Linked DNA regions of Homo sapiens: regions 1, 2, 3, 4, 5 and 7 are each linked to region 6. The links are contacts of gene promoters, found by promoter capture Hi-C in blood cells and fetal thymus (Javierre and others, 2016). All regions are on one chromosome and are shown on one strand. The core of a region is centred on a gene start or on the middle of the fragment in contact, and the rest is flanking DNA. Distances in the headings are between cores, read along the strand shown. Region 1 holds the start of SDCBP (syndecan binding protein). Region 2 overlaps NSMAF (neutral sphingomyelinase activation associated factor). Region 3 has its middle 3.6 kb from the start of UBXN2B. Region 4 holds the start of YTHDF3 (YTH N6-methyladenosine RNA binding protein F3). Region 5 overlaps SDCBP (syndecan binding protein). Region 6 holds the start of CHD7 (chromodomain helicase DNA binding protein 7). Region 7 has its middle 9.2 kb from the start of NSMAF.

Region 1 (3,310 bases), core at 125-2,624, 2.1 Mb before region 6:
ATGCAGGTCGACTATTCCTAGTACAGAAATCCAAAATATGAACTACTCTAAAATATGAAACTTTTTGAGTGCTGACATGAGGACCAAGGGAAATGTTCACTGGAACATTTTGAGTTTTGGAGTAGGGATGGTAAACCCATAAGTATATAATGCAAATATTACAAAAGCAAAAAAAAAAAAAATCCAAAATTGGAAACATTTCTGGTCCCAAGCATTTTGGCTTAGAATGAGCCTGTTTTAAACTTGCTCATGCAAACTTGCTATAATTGCTTTTCATTCTGTTTTTTTAGGCGAGGAGTGTCAATTTTTTCCGGATTTTCTATGTTAGATAACCATCTCATCTGAAAGCAAAAAGTTTTATTTCTTCCTTCCCAATCTACCTTGTAATTATTTTTAAATGTCCATTTCATCAGCCTAACTATAACCTTACTGAGAGCAAAGTTTTCATCTTTAGTTGTCACCTCTTTTACACTCAGATTTTTATTAGTTTTGCCATATATTAAATTATTCTGGCACTAATTTAGCTAGAAATAAACTGCTTGTAAATGCTATTTTGTCAAGGACTCTACAGTATTCCGTGGTAACTATGATTACTCTTGGGTAAACTGTGCCTCAGTTTCTTTGTCTGTAATGGGATGTCTTTATAGACTGATGTGAAGACCAAATAAGACTATACATTAAGTTCGTAGAGCTATGGCTGGCACAAAATCAGCCCTCAAGAAATGATCGTTATGTTTTTTTACTGGGAAGCAATTACTTTTGCGCAGCACCACACCTAACTCTCAATAGCGAAGGAATATTAGCTTAGGCGGACAGAGTAATACGCCCCCCACCCCCAACATCCAAATTTCCAACAGAAAAATAAAGCAGGAGTTGAGAAGGGGTCGTGAGAGGAACGTTTCTGAGCCTATAGTGGAGAGGTACAGCAAGCGGAGAGTGAGACTAGGGCAGCAAGTGGTGGAAGTCGAAGGCATCCCAAGAGGGAACAGGGGCTCCCGAGACCTCTTTGAATTGGAGGCGACGAGAACCAAGCGACCGTGAGCTGCGATGCACACAGTAGTGAGTGGGTGGCACGGGGCCCGCGGGCACGAACAGCCGAAGAGCGGAGAAGACTGGGAGCATAACCGCTGGGCAGCGGGCAGCGGACAGCGGGCGGCATGAACCGCCCCACTTTGCCGGATACCTGGAGCTGCAGGAACGACCCACACCCAGGCCTCTTTACCCCTACCGCCCCGTTACCTTGGGGACGGGATCACCCGACCCGGCGCCGTGCGACTGCGCGGGCTGAAGGCGGGGGCGGTGCCATGACGCGCCTCGGGGGCGGTCCTCGGGCGCGCACCGCTCTCTTACACTCGGGCCTCAGAAGTCCGTGCCAGTGACCGGAGGCGGCGGCGGCGAGCGGTTCCTTGTGGGCTAGGTGAGAGGCCAAGGGGGCAAGGAGGGACGCCGGTGCCAGGTCCCGGGCGCGGGGACTTGGGGCAGAGGTGTGACGGTCCCTGGGCCACTTCACAGACTGCATCCTGGTCGCAGCCGTTTTCGCGAGGCAGCGGCGACGCCCTCTCCTCAGGGGGCTCCGCGCCCCTCCCTGCGCCCTGCTGGCTGGGGGGGCAAGTTTGCGGGAGCAGCGCGCTCTTCCTGCCGCGACCCCGCGCGTTTCGGGTTCCTGCCCGGGCTGGGGCTGGGGCTGGGGCTGGGGCTGGGGCTGGCAGAGCCCGGAGGCCCGGCTGGGTGAACGCCTTCAGCCCCCGCCCCAGCTCTGGGGTTCTTCCTGGGACCGTCTCTCGATCCTTGTTTTCTCCTCGATAAGATCTCGACATAAGAAAGAGCCTCTGGCCACGGTTCCTCCCAGTGCTCGGCGTTTCTAGGGCTGTGCTTAATCGCCCTTCTTTTGGGTTATTCGGAAAGTCCTGGATTTGAAAGGAGGAAGGAAGTGTTTGTTTATTGGGCGAAGCCTTGACTTTTTTGGAAGGGGGTGGGGAGAGGTTGTTCGCTTTGAGCTTTTTCCTGGAGAAGTTGGACCTGAGGGAGAAACGTTTCCAGTAGGGTGTGTTTAGAAGGAAATACCCCTGAGATCTGACCCCTGAGATATGATGACTCAGAGCCTTCCTTTCAGGATTTCCTTGTAATAATGGGAAAGGGAAGGCATATGGATGTGGAAAGTTTTCACTTTTACCAAAGTGGTGATTATTGAGTCATGGAGTCTTCTAATGTGTCCATTTTTGAAAGGAGTTTGTAGATTATCTAGTCTGTATAACCACATACACATTTACTGTTATCTTTTCCATTACGTACATTGCTTAGAAAGTACGCTCGGCTTACCAAACTCTTAACATCCGCTTGTTTCAAAAAGAAATCGTTGATTAAAGCAGGAAATTTACCTTGAAAAACAACTGCGGGCCTTTTAAATTAAATTGATTTCTAAATGTGTATGTGATTAGTTAAAACTCAAATTTGTTCAGTCTTTTTATTTTCCTGTTTAAGATTGAGGGATAACGGTAGAAAATACGTCCTTTTGTCTTCTGTGTTACCAACTTAATTCTATAAAATTTGTGCCTTAAATGGTACATAAATATTATAAATCTAGTGGTTTGTGGCACAGAATAAAAAGAAGTAGAATGACTTTTAAAATGGTCAGTAAATAGTCACTCCATTATAAATTAAATTTAACTTTGGAGACATTAACTTTTAGTTTTGGGCATTATAGGAAAAGATGTAAAAAGGGGAAAAAGATGAACAAAAGGGGAAGAATTTGCTAATGGTTGCCGGTTAAATGTACTGTTTAATTAAAGAGTTTCTTAAAATGAGCGTGACAACTATTTTCCCTGTTTTTGCCAGATTTGGGAACTTTTTATAGGTATTAAATGCCAAGAGATTCTAAAAAAGAAAAGCGCCCCCAAATAACTTTGAAATACTTTCTACTTTTAGCAATAGTTACGTTAGCATTTATTAATTTCTTTTCAAGTGCTGCCAACATGTTTTGTAAATGTATTGTTTTTGAGTAGGTAAACAGTCACTTGTCTCAAAATTTAAGCAGCATAAAAAGGTATAAAGTAACAAGTCTTCTGGCAGGCAGGCAACTTTTTTACATTTCTTAGGTATTCTAGGCAAATTTTATATCTACACAGGCAAACATATAAGCTGTATTTGCCTCCTTGCTTTTAACACAAACGTTAACATTTTATATACTGCTTCACATTTTGCTCTTATTTTTCCAGTTAGTGATCATATTTTGGAGCTTTTCTAATATCAGCATATATAGCTTTCAAGTCTTTTGCTGTTACACTCAGTGCTGCAGTGAATCAACTTTTAC
Region 2 (3,697 bases), core at 191-2,690, 2.0 Mb before region 6:
TTCTGAGTCTATGTTTTCTTTTTACTAAAGTGTTGTTATACCCGCTTTAAAATTTTTCTATGTAAAAATTATTATAATTAAGTTGCATGATTTTTAGAACAATGATTTTCAAACTACATTTTACGGAGTAAAAGAGTCCATGCTTAAAAAAAAAAATTAAAATCACCGTTTTGTAATTGGATGGTCTCATCCTTTGGTATTGTATCTGACTGTAAATTATTTCTTTAGAAGACTCTTAGCCCTGCCCCTACATATTCCTAGTTTAATCCTCCTTTACAGAGGTGTGGTTTCATTCTCTTTAGAGAAGTTTCCTCATTGAGCAACTCAACATTCCTAAAAAGATGTTTTCCTATTCTTACATCACCTAAATTTTAAAGCCTACTGTACAACACTTAACTAGAACTTAAAATAGCTGGAGTAACCTTGCATTCCACTCAACAATTATTCAACACTCAGCTGATGAACAGTATTTACAGTGGATCCAGAAGGTTTTGTTAGTCAATGCTTTCTCTAACAGGCTTCACTGTGATAAGAAGTGTAACCCAAACTTATTGGGAGGAAGTGCTGTGATGCCATGACACTTTCGTGATGTGTGCAGAGGCAAAGGAAAGCACAGGAGTGCTGTGTATTTGCCACCTCTACTCTCAATACCCCAACACCAGCCTTGAATGAAGCTAGACTACAGTGCCCCTACTAGAGAGTTGATTTAATTAAACGGACCATTTTTAAGAAGCTTCTGAAAATGATTTCTGAAATAAAGAAGAAATTAAGAAAACTGTTATAGACAAGGCAAGATCGCAGTCCTACTACCCACCATTGGAAACATCCCCCCAGTAATACACTGGACAGTGATATAGTTTGGATGTTCTGTCCTCTCCATATGTCATGTTGAAATGTGATTCCCAACGTTGAAGGTGGAGGCCCGGTAGGAGGTGATTGGATCATGGGGGTAGATCCCTCATGACTCAGCACCATCCCCTTGGTGATAAATGAGTTCACAATCTGTTCACTCAAGCTCTGGTTGTTTAAAAGGGTCTGGGAACTTCCCTTTCTCTCTCTTGCTCTGTCTCTTGCCATGGGATACACCTGCTCCCACTCACTTTCTGCCATAGTAAAAGCTCCCTGAGGCTTACCAGAAACCAAGCAGATGCTGGTGCCTTGCTTCCTGTACAGCCTGCAGAACCATGAGCCAACTAAGCCTCTTTCCATTGTAAATTACGCAGCCTCAGGAATTTCTTTATAGCAAAACAAAAACAGACTAAGACATAAAATTGGCACCAGGGAGTAGGGCATTTTATTATGGATATACGTAAAGACATGGAAGCAGCTTTGGAACAGGGTAACAGGCAGAAGCTGGAAGAGTTTGGGGGACTCAGAAGAGACCAGGAAGACAAGGGAAAGTTTGAAACTTCTCAGAGACTGGTTAAATGGTTGTGACCAAAATACAGATAGGAATATGGACAGTGAAGGTCAGGCTGACACGGTCTCAGATGGAAATGAGGAAATGAATGGGAACTGAAACAAAGGTCGCCCTTGTTACAAACTAGCAAAGAACTTGGCTGCATTTGTGTCCATGTTCTAGGGATCTGTGGAAGGTTGAACTTAAGAGTAAGGACTTAGGTAGGGTATGTGGCGGAAGAAATTTCTAAGCAGCAAAGGGTTTCAGAACTGGTCTGGCTGCTTCTAAAAGCCAACAATCAGATACAGGAACAAATAAATGACTTAAAGTTGGAACTTACACTTAAAAGGAAAGCAGAACATAAAACTCTGGGAAATTTGTAGCCCGGCCATGTGGTAGAGAAAGAAAAAGCATTTTCAGGAGAGGAATTCAAGCCGGCTATGGAGTAAGCTATGGAATAATTGCATGCTAGAGAGATGAGCATGACTAAAAGGTTGCCAAGGGCTAATATCCAAAACAATGGGGAAGGCCTCAAAGTCATTTCAGAAGTTTTCAGGATGTCCCTCCCATCACAGAGGGCCTAGGAGAGGAAAGAAGGGCTTAGGGGGCCAAGCCCAGCTTCCCACTACCCCATACAGCCTAGGGACACTGCTTCCTGCAGACCCACTGTTCCACCTCCAGCCATGGCTCAAAGGCCCACAAGTACAGCTCATGCTGCTGCTCCAAAGGGTGCAAGACATTAGCCTTGGAAGCTTCCATGTGGTGTTAGGTGTGCAGGTGCACAGAATGCAAGCATGAAGGAGCCTTGGCAGCTTACCCCTAGATTTCAGAGGATGTGTGAAAAGGCCTGGAATCCCGGGCAGAAGCCTGCTACAAGGATGGGGCCCATACAGAGAACGTCTACGACAGTAGTATGAAGGGGAAAAGTGGGCTGGAGTCCCCATATATAGTCCCCACCAAGTGGAGTTATGAGAAGGGGGCCACCTGCCCTCTAGACTCAACAATGGTAGAGCCATCAGCAACTTGCAACCTCAGCATGGAAAAGTTGCTGGCACTCAACTCCAACCTGTGAAAGCAGCCAAGTGGGCTGCACCCTTCAAAGCCACAGAGGCAGAGCTGCCTAAGGCCTTAGGAGCCCACTTCTTACACTGCTGGCCCTGGGTGTGGGACAAGGAGTCATAGGAGATTATTGTGGAGTTTTAAGATTTAATGACTGCCCTACTGGGTTTCAGACTTCAGTGAGGCCTACTGCCCCTTTCTTTTGGCAGATTTCTCTCTTTTGAATGGGAATGTTTACCCAATGCCTGTACCACCATTGTATCTTGAAAGTAGATCAACTGTTTTGATTTTACAGGCTCATAGGTGGAAAGAGATAGGTGTAAGATGAGACTTAGGACTTTGGACTTGATGTTGAAATAAGTTAACACTTTGGGGGACTATTGGGAAGAAATGATTGTATTTTCCAATGTAAGAAGAACATGAGATTTAGGGGGCCAGGGGCAGAATGATATAGTTCGGATGTTTGTCCCCTCCGAATCTCATGTTAATATGGAATTACCAATGTTGAAAGTAGGGTCCAGTGGGAGGTGACCTGATCATGGGGGCAGATCCCTCATGAATGCCTCAGCACCATCCCCTTGGTAATAAGTGAGTTCATGCTCAGTTAGTTCACATGAGATCCGGTTGTGGTTGTTTAAAAGAGTCCAGAGCCTCCTCCTCCTCTCTCTTGCTCCCTCTCTTGCCATGTGATGTACCTGCTCCCACTTCACCTTCCACCATGAGTAAAAGCTCCCTGAGGCTTCACCAGAAGCCAAGCACATGCCAGTGCCATCCTTCTTTCCTGTACAGCCTGCAGAACTGTGAGCCCATTAAACCTCTCTTGAATTAGCAGCATGACGTTCATGCTGGGGACTGGTGACAACAACTTCCTCTTCTAGTGGTTTATAAATAATCTGTCTGATCTAGAATTTGCATTAAACCTATTTATGCACACATGTTCTTTCAGCACCTTTCAAAGTTCCTAGATCATTGAAATAATTCTGTGGTTCTACACTCAAACTCTCCCAGGATTTTACGCCAGGAGACATAAGCACTTGGGTACCATTTGCATCTTCACCCATCTTGCGAAAGTTCATCCTCTTTCAGTCTGAAGATTAGTATTATTAATAGAGTACAAAATAAGAGCTTTCCCTGTCATAAATCAATGTTACACCTGGTACCAGGCTAGGCCTAGGCAGCAGCCCAGTACTTCCTAGTTCCAAGGGCAACTTTGGAAGTTTTTTTGTTTTTATTTTTTTA
Region 3 (3,495 bases), core at 191-2,690, 2.3 Mb before region 6:
TTAACAAGATACACATAAGATGCAAGTGAAACACAAACACCCATAGTAACTCAACAACGTGAGCAACTTCTTCCGGAATCAGCTAGTAATTTTCAAATACTAGAGGAAAATTTACATTTTTTTTCTTTTGCTATTCACAGCATAACAGCTGCAGGCACAGCATACTTTTAAGTCTTATCTGCCTCGTAAACATTTTCTCCAACAGATCCTTAAATCTCCAGTGGGCAATCAACAAAACAAGAAATCGAACTTTTATTTATGGCGTTTACCAATTTCTGAGGTGGGAATACTTACACCATGGTAGATTTCAAGCTACTAACATGTTGTCACTGAATGCGAATTGGGAAGAGGTGTGCAATAGCATCTCCACCATATAGATCCAATAGATGTAAATCCCCTCAGGAGCATAGATAATAGCAAAATGTATTCAAATAACTAGGAAATTAGAGATTTGAATATTTATTGCATGAGTTTTTTGTATAATTTAGTTGTACATTTATATCATTTAATTTTTAATAATCCCTGTTTAACAACTGCCTTGCAAAATTCCTAAAAATTTAACAGTAGGCTCTCATAAGCCAGTGCACGGCAACTTCTGCACACCATTGACATTAAGTTCATTGAATATGTAGCCTTCACTATCCTATCTGTCACTCTGAAACTAGTAAAATATGGATTTTCCTCACTAACTATGAAATTGGTAGTAACTTTTGGGACAGCATCTCCTGTTCCTTTAGTCCAGTGGATACTTTTTAGTCTTAATCTTTCTTGATTATCTGTAGTAAATGACATCATTGGTATGCCTGTTGAAACTGCCTCATCACCAGTTTTTCCAGTCTCTTGTGTTCCTCTCACCTCTCTATTACTCAGGGCTACATTGAAAGCTTTCCTTTTTCCACTGAGTTCTTCAATGTTGGTGTTTGTGAGTGTTCTTAATCCTCGAATCTTCTCACATTTCACACTGCTCCTGCGAAGCCTTGTCTACTCTATCATTTACATGCAGTCAACACCCAAATCTGTATGTCCAAACCAAAATTCTTGCCTAATCTTCTAATCTTTATACCCACATTTGCAATTGCTCCATGATGCATTTTCACCAGAGTGTTCCACATACATTTTGAACTCAAAATGTCCATAACAAACTTGTTTATTTCCTTTGAAATTTGTTTCCCCCTTTCAACTCAATAATTTACGGGTAGCACCATTTGCCAAATCACCTAGCCAAATCCCCAGATGTCATTTTTTATTCCTCTTTTTTTCATGTATTCCACATTGAAGACTCCAGCTCCTGTCGGTTCTGACGTTAATATTTCTACCAAGTATTGCTTCTTTCTGTTCTCACTGCCACTGATAAAAATTGAGTCCTAATTACTTCCCATTGTTGTAATAATCTATTTCCTAACTTTGACTCATCATACACATTGATGCATCTGTAATCTTTGTAAATCACAAATCCTTTAATGGCTCCCAGTTGCCTTAGAGCAGTGTCTCTCAAACATAGCTGCACAACAGAATCAGCTGAGCAAGGATTTTGTTCAATCAAGTTTATAAATGAATAATTTACATATAATAAAATGCATGCATTTTAAGTGTATACAGTGTGCTTTTAACAAACGTATTAATACATACCTGTGTAACTACCACCACAATCAAGTTATAAAACACTTCTGTCACCTCAAAAAGTTCCTACATGTCCTACAATTGGGGAACTGAATCCTTACTCCAAAAGACAGCCCCAAGCTACCACCAGCTTTTAGTCATTAAAGGTGTTGCCTGTTCTAAAATTTCATATAAATTAAATCAGACAATATTTACTCTTTCGCACCTGGCTTTTTTTACCCAAGATAATATCTTTGAGATTCATTCAAGACATGTGAATCCATAACTTCTTCCTTTTTACTATTGAGTAGTATTCCATTGTATGATTTATCAAAATTGTATCCATTCATTGGCTGATGGACATTTGGATTGTTTCCAGTTTACAGGCTATTACAGATAAAGCTTCTATGAACATTTGAGTTGAAATACTTTATAAATGTATACTTATATCCCTCTTGGGTCAATATTTAAGAGTAGAATTGCTGGTTCTTATGATAATGGAATATTTAACATTAGAAGAAACTGACAACCTCTTTTCCAAAGTGGCTGTACCATTCTAGGACCCACTAGCAGTGTATGAGAGTTCCATGCAGAAAGCCAAGGCAACAGCTACTCGGGAGGCTGAGGTGGGAGGATTGCTCTAACTAGACAGATTGAGGCTGCAGTGAGGCGTGATTGCACCACTGTACTCCAGCCTGGACAACAGAGAGAAACCCTATCTCAAAAAATAAATAAATAAAAATAAAGAGCCTGGGCAAATATAGTCACCTTGTTCGTTTTCCTTCTTTCAGATATCACAGACCTGTACTGCCTGTTGCTCAATGCCTTAAAACTGTTGTTTTTAGTTGTTAAGAGTGGGAGGACAAGTCCAACATCAGGTATACTGTCATGGCCAGCAGCAAAATCCACTTTGCGAACATCTTAAGAAATATGATGCCTGACTCCCACTCTATACCAATTATTAATAAATCTGAGTACCTGGAGACGAGAGAGAAGAGGTGATTCTAATGTACAAGAATGTTAGAGAATCACTGGCTCAGAGGATTCCATCCCCAACCTAAGGCAAGATCCTTCAGAATCTGTCTCAAGCCTCCATTCTACATCTGTCTCCTCCCCACCATTCCATAACCATCTTTTGTCATTTCTAAGTTGCAACCATATAGCAATTTGCTGACATGAATATAATATTTTAAATATCAGTGTCTTTGTAAATATCTTTGCCTTTACCAAGATTCTTTCTGGTCTAATACTTCTACTGGAAGTACTTTCCTTCAACACTCAGCTAAAATGTCTTTGGCTCTATGAGGCATTTCTTGTTAAAGAGCCCGAGATTTCTAGGGCAGAATCTGATGTTAAGAGAGTATCAGGAAAACAAGTGCAGTTTAGTATTTGGCACTGCCATTTACTACAGGGTGAAGTTAGTCTTCATCATCTGGTTTCCTCGGGTATAACAAGATAATCATAACTACCTGGTAGAGGGATAAATGAAATTACACAGGGAATGCACAGCTGGGGGAGAAAATTTTCTCCTTTACTCTCTCAGAGTCTCCAGCTGGGTCCAAGAATTAAACGGACACAAAACAGATTAACAGGGAAAAAGCATACAAATTTTATTTAATAAAACTTTACGTATAAGTGGGTGTCCTCACAGGAAAATAAACACCCGAAGAAGTGGCTAGGCCTAAGTGCTTATATACTAGGTTGAACAAAGAGAGGCAATCGTGGAAGAGTATCTAGGAAGATACTGGTTAGTTTAACAATATCTGTACAGATGTTTCTCGGCCTCAACTCCCCTTCTCTGGTGATGAGTATCTTTCCTCTTGGTATAGGGAGGGCATCTATCACATGGTAGTTTCTTTTCCTGCTTTCAGGAAGAAAAGGTCAGAGTGCTCTTCT
Region 4 (3,626 bases), core at 810-3,309, 2.5 Mb after region 6:
ATGTACCAGCAAACTCATTAAAACTAAAACGGTCTGTTTGGGAGTGAAGGATGGGAGACATTGAGAGCAACAGCAGAAAGGGTTGGGGGAGTCTTGGGAAATGCAAGGGTGCTTAGGTTGGGACCCGTGGCAATGAATGGAAGGGCAAGGGAAACTGTCTAACCAGAACTTAAAAATGCCTCTTGGTGATTTACATGAAAAGTGGCCTCTCAAGTTTTTCTATTATTCAGTGCTTCTAAGATACTGTTGCACTGTAAACCACAAAATTAATCTTATGATTCTACAATTTTACTTTCTAAATGATCACTTATTTGATGGTTTTTGAAGTACAGAAAGTATTTGGTCATTTAAATTATTTCCTTCCATGGACTCTGTATCACTGAGACAAGGAATCTTTGCCTTTATTGTAGATATTTCAATGAAAATGTCAACACGTTGCAAATTGGCATACTTTGGGTTTGCCAATATGTGATAAAGAACTTTTTCAATGGAAACTTTCCCTCTTTTCAGGGCCGAAAAGACGCTCTGCAACTATACTTAAGTATCCTAGGCAACTTTATTCATTCAAAAACATCAGAGCGGAGTCAAAAGCACAAATCCATGAATTGGGCGGCGAAGTCTGACTCCAGAGATTACGGCTGAACTGGGTTTGGAAAGACTGAACCCGCGCCGGTGCTCCTCCTGTTTGCTTGGACTTAAGTTTGAGTACCACAACTCTAACCTGCCACTTCAGCTGCACGGGCAGGCTTGTGGGGACCCAGCAACTCCGTCCAGAGAGCGGCTGAGTCAGCCAGCCGTCCCCACGGCTTTGGGCAGCCGCCGAAGGCTCCTGCTAGGCCCGGCTGGCTCACCGGGAAGTTCCCTGCCTCCGTCCCGTCAGCCTCCAGGAGGGCGCCGCCGGCCGCCGTGACTTCAGCAAGGCACTACTATCTCCGTCAGCCGCCGCCTCGGCCATCTTCCTGCCCGGAGTGCAACAAAATCCGGCTCTGGCCAGCCTTCCAGCTGACGCCACTCTGCCAGGGCCCTGCAGCCTCGGAGCGGGATAGAAGGAAGCCGCAGAAAAGACGCTGAAAGTTGGCGCTCGCTGACGCCCCGACGCGCTCCCTCCATGACGCATGCGCCCACCGGCCGTGAGCGCGGGTCCGGTCTCCGGTGACGTGGCGGTGAGGAGGCGGAGCCAAGATCAGCGGCGGGAGGGTGGGGGAGGAAGAGCGAGGTGAGCGCGGACGTCAGAGTGGAGAGCGGAAGGTCAGGGAGGCTCGGAGCGGAAGTGAGACTAGGGAGTCTGTCCGCCATTGTGGACCCGAGAAGCAGAGAGCGAGAGGGGGAAGAGGAGCGTGCAAGCGGAAAAGACGGGCCTCTTCCTCCGACTCCCGAGCGCGAGGCCCTCATTTTGGGTTCTCAGCGAACGGCGGCAGCGGCGGCGGCTGGAACAATCACTCGGCCAAGGGCGACAGCCAACTGCTGTGAGTGCACGGGGAGAGGCCCAGGCAGCGGCGGCGGCGGCGGCTCTCGGGTTGCGGTGAAGAATGTCAGCCACTAGCGTGGATCAGGTGAGGGAGCAGAGGCCCCAGGCTTGGCGAAGGCCCGAGCCCCGGAGCTCCACCCTCGCGCGGGGCTTCGGCTCCTCCCCGTCGCCGCCGCTGCCGGCCCCATAACGGTGCCCCGGGCGCAAGTTGCTGCGGTGTAGCTACCCGGGCCGGGGCGTGCGCCCTGGCCCCGTAGCTTGCGGGCGGGCGGGCGCGGTGCCGCGGCGGGTGGGGGCAAGGACCGGTCTTAGGGGCCTTAGGACAGATCCTGAGGGCGGCAGACATGGGGCGGAGACCGGGCGAGCTCTGGGAGACGGATTCCGAGTGGCGGGTGGGAGGTTTAAAGGCTGGGGGTGGTTGGGAAATTGGTGGCTGTGGAGGATATGGTGGGTTTTTACTCCTACGCGGATAGTCTAAAATAACTTGTCTTTGATAATGCCTTTGATTAACACACTTTTTCTTTTCTTCCTTTTTCTCCTCTTTACCGCATCTTTCGTCTTGCAACACAGAGACCTAAAGGGCAAGGAAATAAAGGTGAGTTTGGATTTTTTTTTTTCTTATTGCTCAATGTTGCCTTAATGTTACTTTTAAACTCTGTGAGGGTATTTTGTTTGTTTTTGCTCCCTCTTGGGAAAAAATGTAGGATTAGGGAAAATATTCATCATGGCTAAGGTAGCCAAGTTCTATCCAGAACTTCGGTAGTTCGTTGCTTTGAAGCCACTTTATAGAAACCAAAGTAGTACGAGAAACAGTTTCCTTGTCAGTTAAGCAGGTATTGGTGTGAACCTGGTGGTATTTCTTTGGTTTTCCAGTTTTTCTGTGTTATGTAACTTATGCCACAAAAAATTTCTACATGTGTATATAGACAAGTATATTCTTAAAGTGGACATTTTGTTTGACATGTCTGGATTACACTGGAAAATGGAAGTCTACATAGTATTCCATCACATTAATGAAAATTGTACTGTTAATCACTGATTCTATTGAAGTCAGTTGTAATGAGGCAACAACATGAGAGAGGTTAGAACTGAGTAGGCATGCCATCTTGCTCTATTGTTCTGATTGCAAGGTGTGACTCTATCTGGTATTTTATAAAGGGCTGAGAAGAAAATAGTTTGTGACATTTTTTCCAGGATTTTATAATTTTCTCTTTAGTAAAAGTACCATTGAAAGTAAAGTGTTTTTTTAAAAAGTGTGTTTTGTATTAATATGGAACAGTGCAGTCAGCTGACTGAAACATTATGACATTAGTCATGTGACATTTAGTTAAGTATAGAACAATAACTGCTTTCTTGGGATAGTGCCAATTAAATAACATCAGAGCAAATTATATATAACATTTTGTAGTGCTTGAAATTACACTAAAATTATGCTTTCTGTTGATTTCAGTAACACAGTGTTAGAAATTAAGATCTATAATAGCCTTTTAGATATAGATTGTCTTTGGTGCCCTTTAAATTCTTGTTAGGGTATTTATTTGCTATTGCAAATTTGGTGAATTTAATAGGTTTTGGATATGTAGATTAGTTTCCTCTGAATTATGGAATTTGTACATACCAGTTACATGGCACCATATTAGGTAACATTTTGTTTGTTTTCATTAAAGATGTTTTCTTGCAGTATGTAAATATTTAGACATTTTAATTTTTAAAATTTCATTTCTAGAATTTTTTTTGTTGTAAGCATAAACCTGAAATAAAAATTGGATATTGATTTATTTTAAATGAGTTTTTAAAAATTTGTGAATTTTAAAAAGAATGATCCATTAATTTCTTCTTTTGCTAGTCTACCCATTAGGAACTATGTAGACTTGGAGATTGTGAAATTGTGGTCATTATTGCCTAGCATAAATTATTTTATCCTAGATCTGTGGGGAGGTGGCACTTTGCAAAGCTATTTGAAATGCTAAGTGTTTTATGTTACCCGCTTTAAGGTAAGTACACAAGTTCTATGAGGTACTTGTTTGTTAAAACAAAATAGAGCCTCTACAGCACTGTAAGTCAGTAAAATAAGTTTGATTTATGAGTGGTCATTTCACTTAGGTAGGCACTGGTGGCATCTTTGATATTAGATATGAGTTGAGTTATCTATAAACTG
Region 5 (3,778 bases), core at 784-3,283, 2.1 Mb before region 6:
ACTGCAAATAACATAATTAAATTTAACTTTGCAGGGAGCTTTCTATATGTATTCTTCAGTATTCCTTGGATTAAAAACAATAGCAATGAAAGAACAGAAATTCATAACTACATACAAAGGAGAAGTATTTTAAATTAATAAGCTGTGTTTTAGAGCAATTTTAGATTCACAACAAAATTGATCAGAAAGTACAGTATACCTTCTGTCCTCACACATGCACAACCTCCCCCAGTATCAGCATCTGCACCAGAGCAGTACATCTGGCTCATTAATATCACCTGAAGTCTACATATTTACATTACATCACATTAGGGTTCACTGTTGGTGTTATATGTTCTGTGGATTTTGACAAATGTATAGTGACGTGTATATAGTCATGTGTTGCTTAAAGACGGATATGTTCTGAGAAATGCCTCATTAGACAGTTTTGTCGTGCAAACATTATAGAGTGTACTTCCACAAATGTAGATGGCATAGCCTACTACACATCTAGGCAGTATGGTATAGTCTGTTGTTCCTATGCTACAAACCTGTATGATCCCACCTGTATGATACAGTAATACTGCATGTTACTGTACTGAATACTGTAGGCAATTGTTACACAATAGTATTTGTGTATCTAAACACAGAAAAGGTATGGTAAAAATACAATGTAAAAGATTTAAAATGGTACATCTGTATAAGGCACTTACCATGAATGGAGCTTCCAGGACTAGAAGTTGCGCTGGGTAAGTCAGTGAGTGAGCGGTGAGTGAATGTGAGGCCTAGGACATTATTGTATACTGCTGTAGACTTTATCAATACTCTATACTTGGGCTGCACTAAATTTATTTAAAAATTTTTCTTTCTCGAATTATAAATTAACCTTAGCTTCCTGTAACTTTAATTTTTTAACTTTCTGACTCTTGTAATAACATAGTTTAAAACACAAACATTGTACAGCTGTATAAAATATTTTCTTTCTTTATATCCTGATTCTATAAGCTTTTTTCCTATTTTTTAAATTTTTAGTTTTTAAAAATCGCTTGTAAGTTTGTTAAAAACTGAGACACACACTCACATTAGCCTAGGCCTGCACAGGGTCAGGATCATCAATATCACTGTCTTCCACCTCCACATCATCCCACTGAAAGGTCTTCAGAGGCAGTAACATGCATGGAGTTGTCATTTCCAATGGTAATAGTGCCTTCTGGAATACCTCCTGAAGGACCTGCCTGAGACTGTTTTACAGTTAACTTTTTTTGTAAGTAGAAGGATATACTCTAAAGGGTATAACACAGGAAATACATAAATGAGTAACATAGTCATTTATTATTATCAAGTATTATGTACCATGCATAATTGTAGATGCTATACTTTTTTATATATGACTGGCAGTGCAGTAAGCTTATTTACACCACCATCACCACAAAGTAATGAGTTGTTCTGTGTGACGGCAGCTATGATGTCACTAGACAGTAGGAATTTTTTAGCTCTTTTATAATCTCATGGGACCACTATTGTATATGTGGTTCATCATTGACCAGAACAGGCAGCACATGACTGTATACCATTGTAGCATTAGACAGAATAGGTTCACTGCTCGAAAAATTCTTTAATGCCTGTTCTTCCTTCCCTTCTAGAAACTCCTGGCAACCAATAATTTGCTTTTGCTTTTGTGTTTTCTTTAGCGTCAGGATGTCGCTCTGTTGCCCAGGCTGGAGTACAGTGGCACAGTCATGGTTCACTGCAGCGTCCATCCTCCTGCCACAGCCTTCTAAGTAGCTGGGACTACAGGCATGCACCACCACACCTAGCTAGTTTAAAAAGAAAATTTTTTTTTCCCCCAAAACGGAGTCTGGCTCTGTCACCAGGCTGGAGTGCAGTGGTGCGATCTTGGCTCACTGCAACCTCCTCCTCCTGGGTTCAAGCAATTCTCCCTGCCTCAGCCTCCCGGGTAGCTGGAATTAACAGGCATCCACCACCATGCCCGGCTAATTTTTGTATGTTTACTAGAGACAGGGTTTTGCCATGTTGGCCATGACAAACATGACAACATGCCATGTTGGTCAGTTGAACTCCTGACTTCAGGTGATCTGCCCACCTCAGCCTACCAAAGTGCTGGGATTACAGGCATGAGCCACTGTGCCTGGCCAAAACAATTTTTTGCATAGGCAGGGTTTTCCTATGTTGCCCAGGCTGGTCTTGAACTCCAGGCCTCAAGCAACTCTCCAGCTTCAGCTTCCCAAAGTGCTGGGATTAAAGGCCTCAGCCACTGTGCCTGGCCTAATATTTTATTATCTCCACAATTTTGCATTTTTCAAAATGTCGTATAGTTGGAATCATAAAGTATGTAGCCTTTTGAGATTGGCTTCTTTCACTTAGTAATATCCACTTAAGTTTCCTCCATGTCTTTTCATGTCTTTATAGTTCTTTTTTTTTTCCCAGTGCCGCACAGTATTTTTTTTGTTAGACATGATTCAAGAAGTAATATAACAAGCCACTAGCTCCTTTTAGCTAATCGGTGGTGAAAGAACTTTCAAAGTTCAACACATGTTCAATTTGTGGATTGTTATTTATAATTATAAAGATTTTCATGCTGTATTTTGTTTAAATCTAGAATGTTTAACAAATTATGAAATAATAAATATTAAAGGATGACTCAACAAGTATATCAGAACATATAATTTTAGTACCATTCAAAGCTTTCATAGGCTTTACTTATTTAAACTAAGCTTTCATATCTCCAAGCATCTTTGGGAATACTCTTGACATTGATTTTAGGGCTAGGTTGAGATACTACTATGAACTTCATTTTTAAAATGATACATTTCCAATAAAGTAAAAAGTTGGTAGAGATTGGTCATACAACTTATTACCAAACTTGTCTCTAATGACATATAGCTATTTCAGAAAGTCAGATCTAATTGTAAAGGATAAAGTATTTCCATCAGTGAGATACTTCATATGATGTAGGCCATCAAGACAGCCCTGAGAAGAGGATACTTGAGCATGAGTAGCATTGATAAATGCTAGAGTGTCAGAGTGTGTCAGAGTGATTTTGGCAAGTTTGTTTAACAGTTACAAATTACATTACCTTGTCATCATCGATTTATGTCAGTGATAAACTGTGCTATTTTCATAATTTCTGATATTTTAAAAGTATTTAGCATAAACCCCTTCCTATACTTGCTGCAATGAAGATAAAGATGATTTCAGTGGGACATGCTTAGTATTAATTTTTTAGGTGTTTTTCTGATATGTGACTTTTATATGAATATGGGTAAGGTTTTTTCTTATGCAAATAAAATATTTTTACTTGGACTAATTAGTAAAAGAATAATGAAAATGTAAAATTTATTCATTTTAGAATGCACTTTGAAAATATTAATTTATTGTGGCAGCACTATGAAGTGCTGGTTATAAGACATGTAGAATGGTACTTCTACAATTTTTTTGTGATAGCCTTAAAAGTATTTAGAATATCAAATATAGTTTTGATTTGCAGATTTCCTTTGGAAAATGTATTGCTGATGTGTTTGAAATTAAACTTTCTTACATAAATCTTCATTGTTTTAGTTTCTTTTTGGAAGTACTGGATTTAGCTTATAAATTATATAAGAATATAAAGTAAGTATAGCATATTGTTAGAATTTTCTTCTTTTCTTTTTCAGGCTCAAACTGCTTTTTCTGCAAACCCTGCCAATCCAGCAATTTTGTCAGAAGCTTCTGCTCCTATCCCTCACGATGGAAGTAGGTTTATACTTTGAGTTCATTCTCTGTGAACAGAAATATTGTT
Region 6 (3,327 bases), core at 153-2,652:
AATGTGATATATTTATAGAATTATTACTAAAATCAGAAAATCAATGTCTTAGTGATTAAGTCTAGGATAATCAAACTTATTGAATAGTTGCAGTAGTTACTTAATGAGATAGTTTTGATTAATCTTTTGTCCAAATAACAATATTGTGATTACAGGCTTAGCACTACAGGTAGTGTAACCATCAGTGAGTGAGATTAGTACATTTTACATAGTTTTGCTATTTTCTCAGTTTATTTTGGAGTCCAGTAATAACCAGTCAGTCTGTACCTGCCATAGGGCAATCTTTGGTTGATATGAGTTCCTTTCCTGATTTTAAAATAAGTGCAATCTTTAACCTAATAAAATTATCTTAAAGTTTACAATTGATGGTTTAAACACATTATAATTGCTCCGTATTTTGCAGATAGAAGAGGCTTAATCCATGTTTGTAGATCTATTTCCTAAAATAAAAATTAGTAAAAAAAAGTTTTTTTTCTTCAGGTTTAACATTCATTTTGTACCGGGAAGAGAAATGGAATAAGAGGCTCGGATTTTTAAGACTATGCAATCAGATACAAGTGCCATTTTGGCCAAAGAATGAGTAAAACATTCTAGTCCCGACACGTTTAATAATGGGCATACATCCTATTTCTTTGTTTCATAATCATTGAGCTCTCTGCCTTCTCTCTCTTTTTTGGTATGGTAACAAATTCGACAAAATCAATGCCATCTAGTTAAACTTTTTGATTAAGTAGTGGATCCGGTGTCCTATCCACGAAGAGGTGGGAAAAGCGATGTGGAGAAGCAGGCACGAACCCATCTGGAATGGAACATGTCCCTTCCGAATAATTTCATGTGGGAAAATAATTTCAAGTTGAAGGATAATTACTGCAGAGACTGCCAGTCACCCCCGGCCGCCGCCGGCCGCGCAGCGTCGGAAACCCTTCGCGGCAGCCAGGAGGGTCGCAGCCCTCCCGGAGCCCCGCTTCCTGCCCCGGGGCGGCGCACCCGGCTCCGGGAAGGTGCCGCGCGGGAGACGTGGCAGCAGCCCCTCCAGTCCGCGCCCGGGCGCAGCGGCCGAGCGCTCCGTGCAGCCGGGCAAGGAAGACTCCGCGGCAGCAGCGCACCGGCCGGCGGGGAGACCCGCCTGAAGCGCCGGCGCCCGCCAGGGGACGGGAAGTGGCGCCCGGCCCGCCCTTGCGGCCCGCGGCCCGCGGCCCAGCAGCTCCGCGCCGCCCCTTTTCTCTCGGCCTCTCCCTCGGCCTCCGCCACCCCGGCCGAATTCTTGCATAAATTATGCCAGGCGCGCCTGACGTCAGGTGGCGGCGCGCGGGCGCGGGCGCGGGCGCGGCGCGGCCCGGAGGGAGCTGGCGGCGGGCGCGCGCGGCCCCGCGGCTTCGGGTGCGCGCGGCGTGCCGGACGCGCGCAGGCGCTGGCGTGCTGGGGCCGCGGCGGCGGCGGCGGCGGCGGCGGCAGCGGCGGCGGCGGCGGCGGCGCGGGGGTTGAGTCGTGGTGGTGCGGACGCGCTCGTGCTCGGGAACTATCGGATTAAACTTGAATCGAGTGAAATTACACAAAGGAGCGCCGCGGAGGAGGCGGCCCGGGGACCCGGACACCCTGAAACTCACCAGAGACCCGTTCGCCCCCGGCCAACTCCGTGCCCGTGGATTCAGCCCCCTGGCCGCAGCTGCCGAGCCAACTCCGGAGCCCGCTCTGCGTTTTGTTTTCCCCTCGGCACTAGGCAGCGGAGGAGCCCGACCGACCCGGTGAGCGCGAGAGTTCGCCCGGCGCCCCCGGGAGGGGCGGCGGCGGCGGCGGCGGCAGGAAATCGCTCCGGGCCGGGGCCGGGGCCGCGCTAGGAGTTGGGAGCGAGGAGTTGGGCGTGTGCGGGGCGAGGGGCGAGGGGCGAGGGCGGGAGGGGGCCGGGGCCAGCGCAGGAGCGCAGCGCCGCCCGCGTAGTGTCGCCGGCGTCGCCGCCCGCGGGGCCCGAACCCGCGCCCCGAGCGCCGCCCGGCGCCCCAACTTTTGCCTGCGTCCGCCGGGCCGGCGGCGGCGGGGGCGCGCGGTGCGGCCGAGGGTCACTTCCTCGCATGTAAATGGCTTTTTGTTGTGCTGCCGGCGTGGGGGGGGGGTACGGGGGACAGGAGGGAGCGTGTCTGCGCGCGGGGGAGCGCGAGCGCGTTTCCTCCCGCCGGCGCCGAGCACGAGTTGCCGGCTCCATTCGAGAGAAAAAGGAAGGAGGAAAAGTTGGGCTCCAACTCAAGTGCGAGCGGGCGATGGGCGCGCGGGCGCGGGGCGGCTGAGCAGCGGCGGCGGCGGCTCGGGGACGGCGGCGACCCCCGCCTCCCGCCCCCGCCCCCCGCTCCGGACCGACCACGCCGCGCTCGCCGGGAGCTGCGGCCGCACCGGCGCGAACAAAGTGCGTTCCTCCCGGCGCGGCGGCGCCAGCCCGCGCGGGGACCGCCACCGAGCGAGGTGGGTCGGCGGCGGGGAAAGTGCGCGGGGCGCCGCGTGGGGCGGGGGCAGCGCGAACACGCGGCGCGGGAGGCGTCCCGAGCTCAGCCAGTGCCGGTCGCGGGCGCGGAGTTGCGAGCCCGGAGTTGGGGGCTCCTGGGGCTCCCCGGCGGCTCCCAAGTGCGCTAGGAGGAGAAGAAAGGGAGCGGGGCCGGGGCGAGCGCCGGGAGGCGCGGCGAGGAGGGGACCCCACCTTGTCGAGCTGGCCGGGCCGCCGGCGGCGGCAGCTGCATAATAGCGACTTTAACCTTCCAACGCAACTCGGCTCCCCCGCCCCCCAACCCGCCGGGGGTCAGCGCCGGTGGGGGGTGGTCACCAGGTGGCCCCCGAGGTGACCCGGGTGCGCTCTGCCCTCGCAGAGAGCCGCGGCTTGGAGCGTGAACGGCCGAGGTGGCTGGAGGCCAAGCGGTCAGCGGGGAGAGGAAAGGAGGGCGGTGGGGGACGCGTTGTTTGTTTGGTTCGCACCGGGGATTGGGCTCGCTGGGGGCGCGGGGCTCGGGCGGGGGCGCGGGCACCGGCTGGGCTGCGGTGCGGGGCGGGCGCGGCGGCGCGGGGCTGTCGAGGTCGCGGGGGGGGGGGGCGGGGGCGGCGGCGGCGGCGGCTCCCGGGCGGGGGTGGGGGCGCTGGTCGGGAGGCTCTGGGGAAGGAGCCGCCGGCCCCGAGCAGCCATCATTACCGAGCCGCCTTTCTCCGGATGGCTCTGCCTCGAGGAGCCCGGAGCCGTGGGAGCGCACCCCAAACTCCCGGCCGGCCGCCCGCTTTGTGAGCGCCCCCGTGAAGCGAGCGGCGCGGAGAGTGCTCCTGCTATGGGTCGGACTCTTTTCCTGGAGGTCA
Region 7 (3,593 bases), core at 2-2,501, 2.0 Mb before region 6:
TTATTAATGTGTGACACAGGCCACTGGAGGGGTAAGAGCAGGAAAATGACATGATATGTTTTACATTTTAAAGTTTGACCACTGCGTTACAAGCCTGAAAGAAGCTCAAAACTTACATGGACAGCAGGAAAATTTAGATAGAACTGTGATCAGCTCTTTCCTCTTGCACATTTTGCTTAAATAACAAAGGGAATTGTATGAGTCTGGGTTCTCCAGAGAAACAGAACTAATAGGAGTTTATATATAGGAGTCTGGAATGTATATATCCAAGTCTGAGCCCAAGAACCTGAAAACCAGGAGAGCCCGTTGTATAATCTCCAGTCTCATCCCAAGCCCAGAGGCAGAAGAACAATGCCCCAGCTCAAAGACAGTCAGGCAAAGAGAGATTATTCTCTCTTACTCCACTTTTGTGTCCTATTCAGGCCTCCAATAGATTGTTTGAGGCCTCTCTACATTGGGAGGGCTGTATGCCTTACTCAGTCCACCAACTCAAAAGGAACCTCCCCCACAGACATACCCACAATAATGTTTAACCAAACATCTGACCCCATGGACCAGTCAAGTTGACACACAAAATTAGCCATCACAGGAATTTGTAGCTCAGGTACCTGGAAATCCGAAGTATCGTATACATCAATGTTCGTTAATCCAGTGGCTCAATAAGTTCATCAGAGACACAGTTTTTCATCATCTTTCTGTTAGGCCTTCCGCATAGTTAGCTGCCTTCTAAGTCTGGTTCCCTTCCCCTATGGCTGGTAATAGGTAGCTTCTGGTATTTGGCCAGCTGCCTACTTTCTCCCTCAGGGTGAGAGACCTCATCCAGCCCAGGCTGGCTAGCAAGTATCTAGAGACTCCCTTGATTGTCCCTATTAGTTCACATGACTTCCCCAAATCCAAGACTGATGAGGGAAATGAAACATTCTCTGAGACTCTGGGCCATCTCTAGAATTGGAGGTAGAAGTTAGCATTCCCCAAAGTACATGAGTTAAGTAAGAAAGGGGTGGAAAGACAAATGAAAATGCGTGTGTGAGTAGGAGCAGGTCCTGGGGCAGTAATGAGATTTGAGACATTTAAGTCACAGCAGACATTGCGTGTAATCACTTATGTTTTCTCATTTTGGCAATGCCGGTGCAAGCCTCCTCTTCTCCCTTTCATAGTTATCTGGGCATGTGAGTTAGTGTTGAAATTAATGGAGGAATAAGACCTCACATTTTTTTAAGAGGATTTTTTTAGATGATTTTTCCCATGCAGTTAATACTGTTTCTGAGGTTCTGTTTTTTATGTCCAGTGGGAAAAAATTAAATAGGAGCTGTATATGCCCATATTGGCATCAATTTTTCCTCCATGGGTTCTATACAGCTTCCAGAGGGCATCTGTTATCTGTCACCTGCACAGTTTATCTTCCTTGCTTGGGTAAAGATTAGGGTAATTGCTGAAGTCATCCCTCATTTAAGATCTTCTCCCTTGTACTTTATAAATCCAGCAATGTTTTTACTCTGCATGTTGCTAATCGGAGATTAGTATAGATTAGGTTAGAAGATAAACAGGAAATTATAAATAAAACCATAATTTTAAGATATACATACATTGTATGCCCTAAAATACAGAAATGTCAACTTCATAAAAAGTAAGTGAAAATTACAACAAAATGAGATACTATTTTCAGATATCGATGTGACAAATATCAGTACTGTCAATGGTCGTGTCCAGTGCTGAAGTGCTTAAACACTATTGATGGAAGTAAAATTGGTAAATTTCTCTAGTGTAAACTGGTAAATGTTTAGTAACCAGCAAGTTGGAAGAAAACAGGCTGATTTGGAGTGTTTGCCAATTTCTGTCGTGTAAAATACCCCCACTATGGCCAATTTCATGTTACCAACGTGAAATCACTGAATGCAGAGCTGGGAAGAGATGTATACAGGTGAACTGGCTCTTCTGGAAGGCAATTTAAATATATCACAGGATTCAACAAAATTTGTTTTTGTTTTGTTTTTGTTTTTTGACACAAGGTCTCTCTCTGTTGCCCAGGCTAGAGTGCAGTGGCATGATCTCAACTCATTGCAACCTCTGCCTCCCGGGCTGAAGCAATTCTTTGACCTCAGCCTTCTGGGTAGCTGGGAGTACAGGTAAGCACCACCACACCCAGCTAAAAAAAAAAAAAAAACAAAAAAAACTTGTACAGACAGAGTCTTTCTACATTGCCCAGGCTGGTCTCTTGGATTCCTGGGCTCAAGTGATCCTCCTGCCTTGGCCTGTCAAAGTGCTGAGATTACAGGCGTGAGCCACAGTGTCTGTCCCAGTTTTATGTTTAATCAGTTAAAAACCAACAGTAGGGCTGGGCGCGGTGGCTTATGCCTGTATTCATACCACTTTGGGAGGCCGAGGGGGTCAGATCACTAGGTCAAGAGTTCGAAACCAGCCTGGCCAACATGATGAAACCCTGTCTCCACTAAGAATACAAAAATGTGCTGGGTGTGTTGGTGTGTGCCCGTAATCCCAGCTTCTTGGGAGGTTGAGGCAGGAGAATTGCTTTAACCTGGGAGGCAGAGGTTGCAGTAAGCCAAAATCGTGTCACTGCACTCCAGCCTGGGCAACAGAACGTTTCATTTCCCTCATCAGTCTTGGATTTGGGGAAGTCATGTGAACTAAGAGAGACAATCAAGGGAACCTCTAGATACCTGCTACCTAGTCTCGGTTAAAAAAACAAAAACAAACAACCAACAGTAATCCAGTTTCTACTAAGAGGTCAATGGTTAAGTAAATTGTTATCTATTCAGTAAAATAATATGTGGTCATTTAAAATCCTGTTTCTAAAGAAGATTTAATTACTTAGGGAAATGACTACAATGAATTTGTGAAATATTTGGAAATGATATATTTTATATTATCTCAACATATCTTAAGTGTACTAAAAATTTAGCAAGTGTTTATAGCAGTTATTTCTGAATACAGAGATTATGTTTTCTTCTTTATACTCCTACGTATTTCCCAAAGAATATAGAAGTGCCCCTTATTCACAGTTTCACTTTCTGCAGTTTCAGTTACCTGCAGTCAACAGCAGGCCAAAAATATTAAATGGAAAATTTCAGAAATAAACAATTCATGCATTTTAAATTGCTAGGTGTTCTGAGTAGCATGATGAAATTGCATGCTCTCTGTTGCTGTCTGGCTCTGTCCCACCGGGGATGTGAGTCCTCCCTTTGTCCAGCATCTCCATGCCACAGATGTTCCCTGCCCTTTACACACTTAGTAGCCACCTCAGTTATCAGATGGAAAAACATAGTGTGTATAGGGTTCGGTACTATCTGAGGTTTCTGGCAGCCACTGGGGACCTCAGAAGGTATTCCTCACACATATGGGGAGACTTCTGTATAAGTTTTCCCTCAGTGTTTTGGGGATATTCCAGGACTTGCCTATACTCTCTGTGCAAATACCAAATTCTCAGATGCTCAAGTCCTTTATAGTCGGCCTCTGTATCTGTGGGTTCTTCATCCATGGATTCAATCAACCGTGTCTCTAAGGGTGGACTGTACTACTTTCGTAATTGAAAACCAAATCACATTTATTACCCATTTTCTTATGCAAAAATTGGT

Evidence for each region. The method cuts DNA at HindIII sites, captures the fragments that hold promoters and counts their contacts. A CHiCAGO score of 5 or more calls a contact.
Region 1: the fragment with the promoter of SDCBP here is called in contact with the fragment with the promoter of CHD7 in region 6 in 1 of 17 cell types (non-activated CD4 T cells); the score reaches 6.0 in non-activated CD4 T cells.
Region 2: a contact is called between a fragment that was not itself captured here and the fragment with the promoter of CHD7 in region 6, in 1 of 17 cell types (activated CD4 T cells). The highest score is 6.5, in activated CD4 T cells.
Region 3: a fragment that was not itself captured here is called in contact with the fragment with the promoter of CHD7 in region 6 in 1 of 17 cell types (non-activated CD4 T cells); the score reaches 6.4 in non-activated CD4 T cells.
Region 4: a contact is called between a fragment that was not itself captured here and the fragment with the promoter of CHD7 in region 6, in 3 of 17 cell types (naive CD8 T cells, neutrophils and naive CD4 T cells). The highest score is 7.5, in naive CD8 T cells.
Region 5: a contact is called between a fragment that was not itself captured here and the fragment with the promoter of CHD7 in region 6, in 2 of 17 cell types (non-activated CD4 T cells and naive CD8 T cells). The highest score is 7.9, in non-activated CD4 T cells.
Region 7: a fragment that was not itself captured here is called in contact with the fragment with the promoter of CHD7 in region 6 in 1 of 17 cell types (naive CD8 T cells); the score reaches 5.2 in naive CD8 T cells.

What each region holds. Positions count from the first base shown.
Region 1 is chr8:58,551,887-58,555,196 of GRCh38, forward strand. SDCBP (syndecan binding protein) reads left to right here and starts at 1,375. Exons shown (of 9, transcript NM_005625.4): 1 at 1,375-1,417. RefSeq lists enhancers at 948-1,127, 1,034-1,751 and a silencer at 1,228-1,757. The HindIII fragment of the contact is 12,216 bases long and covers 1-3,310 here.
Region 2 is chr8:58,646,596-58,650,292 of GRCh38, forward strand. The region is part of intron 1 of NSMAF (neutral sphingomyelinase activation associated factor); the gene reads right to left. Among named protein-coding and RNA genes, the nearest start is that of NSMAF, 11 kb to the right of the region's middle. The HindIII fragment of the contact is 1,418 bases long and covers 732-2,149 here.
Region 3 is chr8:58,406,033-58,409,527 of GRCh38, forward strand. No RefSeq gene overlaps it. Among named protein-coding and RNA genes, the nearest start is that of UBXN2B, 3.6 kb to the right of the region's middle. The HindIII fragment of the contact is 1,117 bases long and covers 883-1,999 here.
Region 4 is chr8:63,167,349-63,170,974 of GRCh38, forward strand. It overlaps YTHDF3 (YTH N6-methyladenosine RNA binding protein F3), which reads left to right and starts at 1,273. Exons shown (of 5, transcript NM_152758.6): 1 at 1,273-1,553; 2 at 2,039-2,063. The coding sequence starts at 1,530. It overlaps YTHDF3-DT (YTHDF3 divergent transcript), which reads right to left and starts at 1,094. Exons shown (of 1, transcript NR_102684.1): 1 at 377-1,094. RefSeq lists enhancers at 816-1,035, 1,236-1,555 and a silencer at 1,636-1,875. The HindIII fragment of the contact is 4,463 bases long and covers 1-3,626 here.
Region 5 is chr8:58,567,234-58,571,011 of GRCh38, forward strand. SDCBP (syndecan binding protein) reads left to right here. Exons shown (of 9, transcript NM_005625.4): 3 at 3,654-3,732. Among named protein-coding and RNA genes, the nearest start is that of SDCBP, 16 kb to the left of the region's middle. The HindIII fragment of the contact is 1,298 bases long and covers 1,385-2,682 here.
Region 6 is chr8:60,677,338-60,680,664 of GRCh38, forward strand. It overlaps CHD7 (chromodomain helicase DNA binding protein 7), which reads left to right and starts at 1,403. Exons shown (of 38, transcript NM_017780.4): 1 at 1,403-1,745. RefSeq lists silencers at 951-1,390, 1,751-1,850, 2,511-2,880. The HindIII fragment of the contact is 9,178 bases long and covers 1-3,327 here.
Region 7 is chr8:58,667,213-58,670,805 of GRCh38, forward strand. No RefSeq gene overlaps it. Among named protein-coding and RNA genes, the nearest start is that of NSMAF, 9.2 kb to the left of the region's middle. RefSeq lists an enhancer at 2,046-2,733. The HindIII fragment of the contact is 5,273 bases long and covers 1-3,593 here.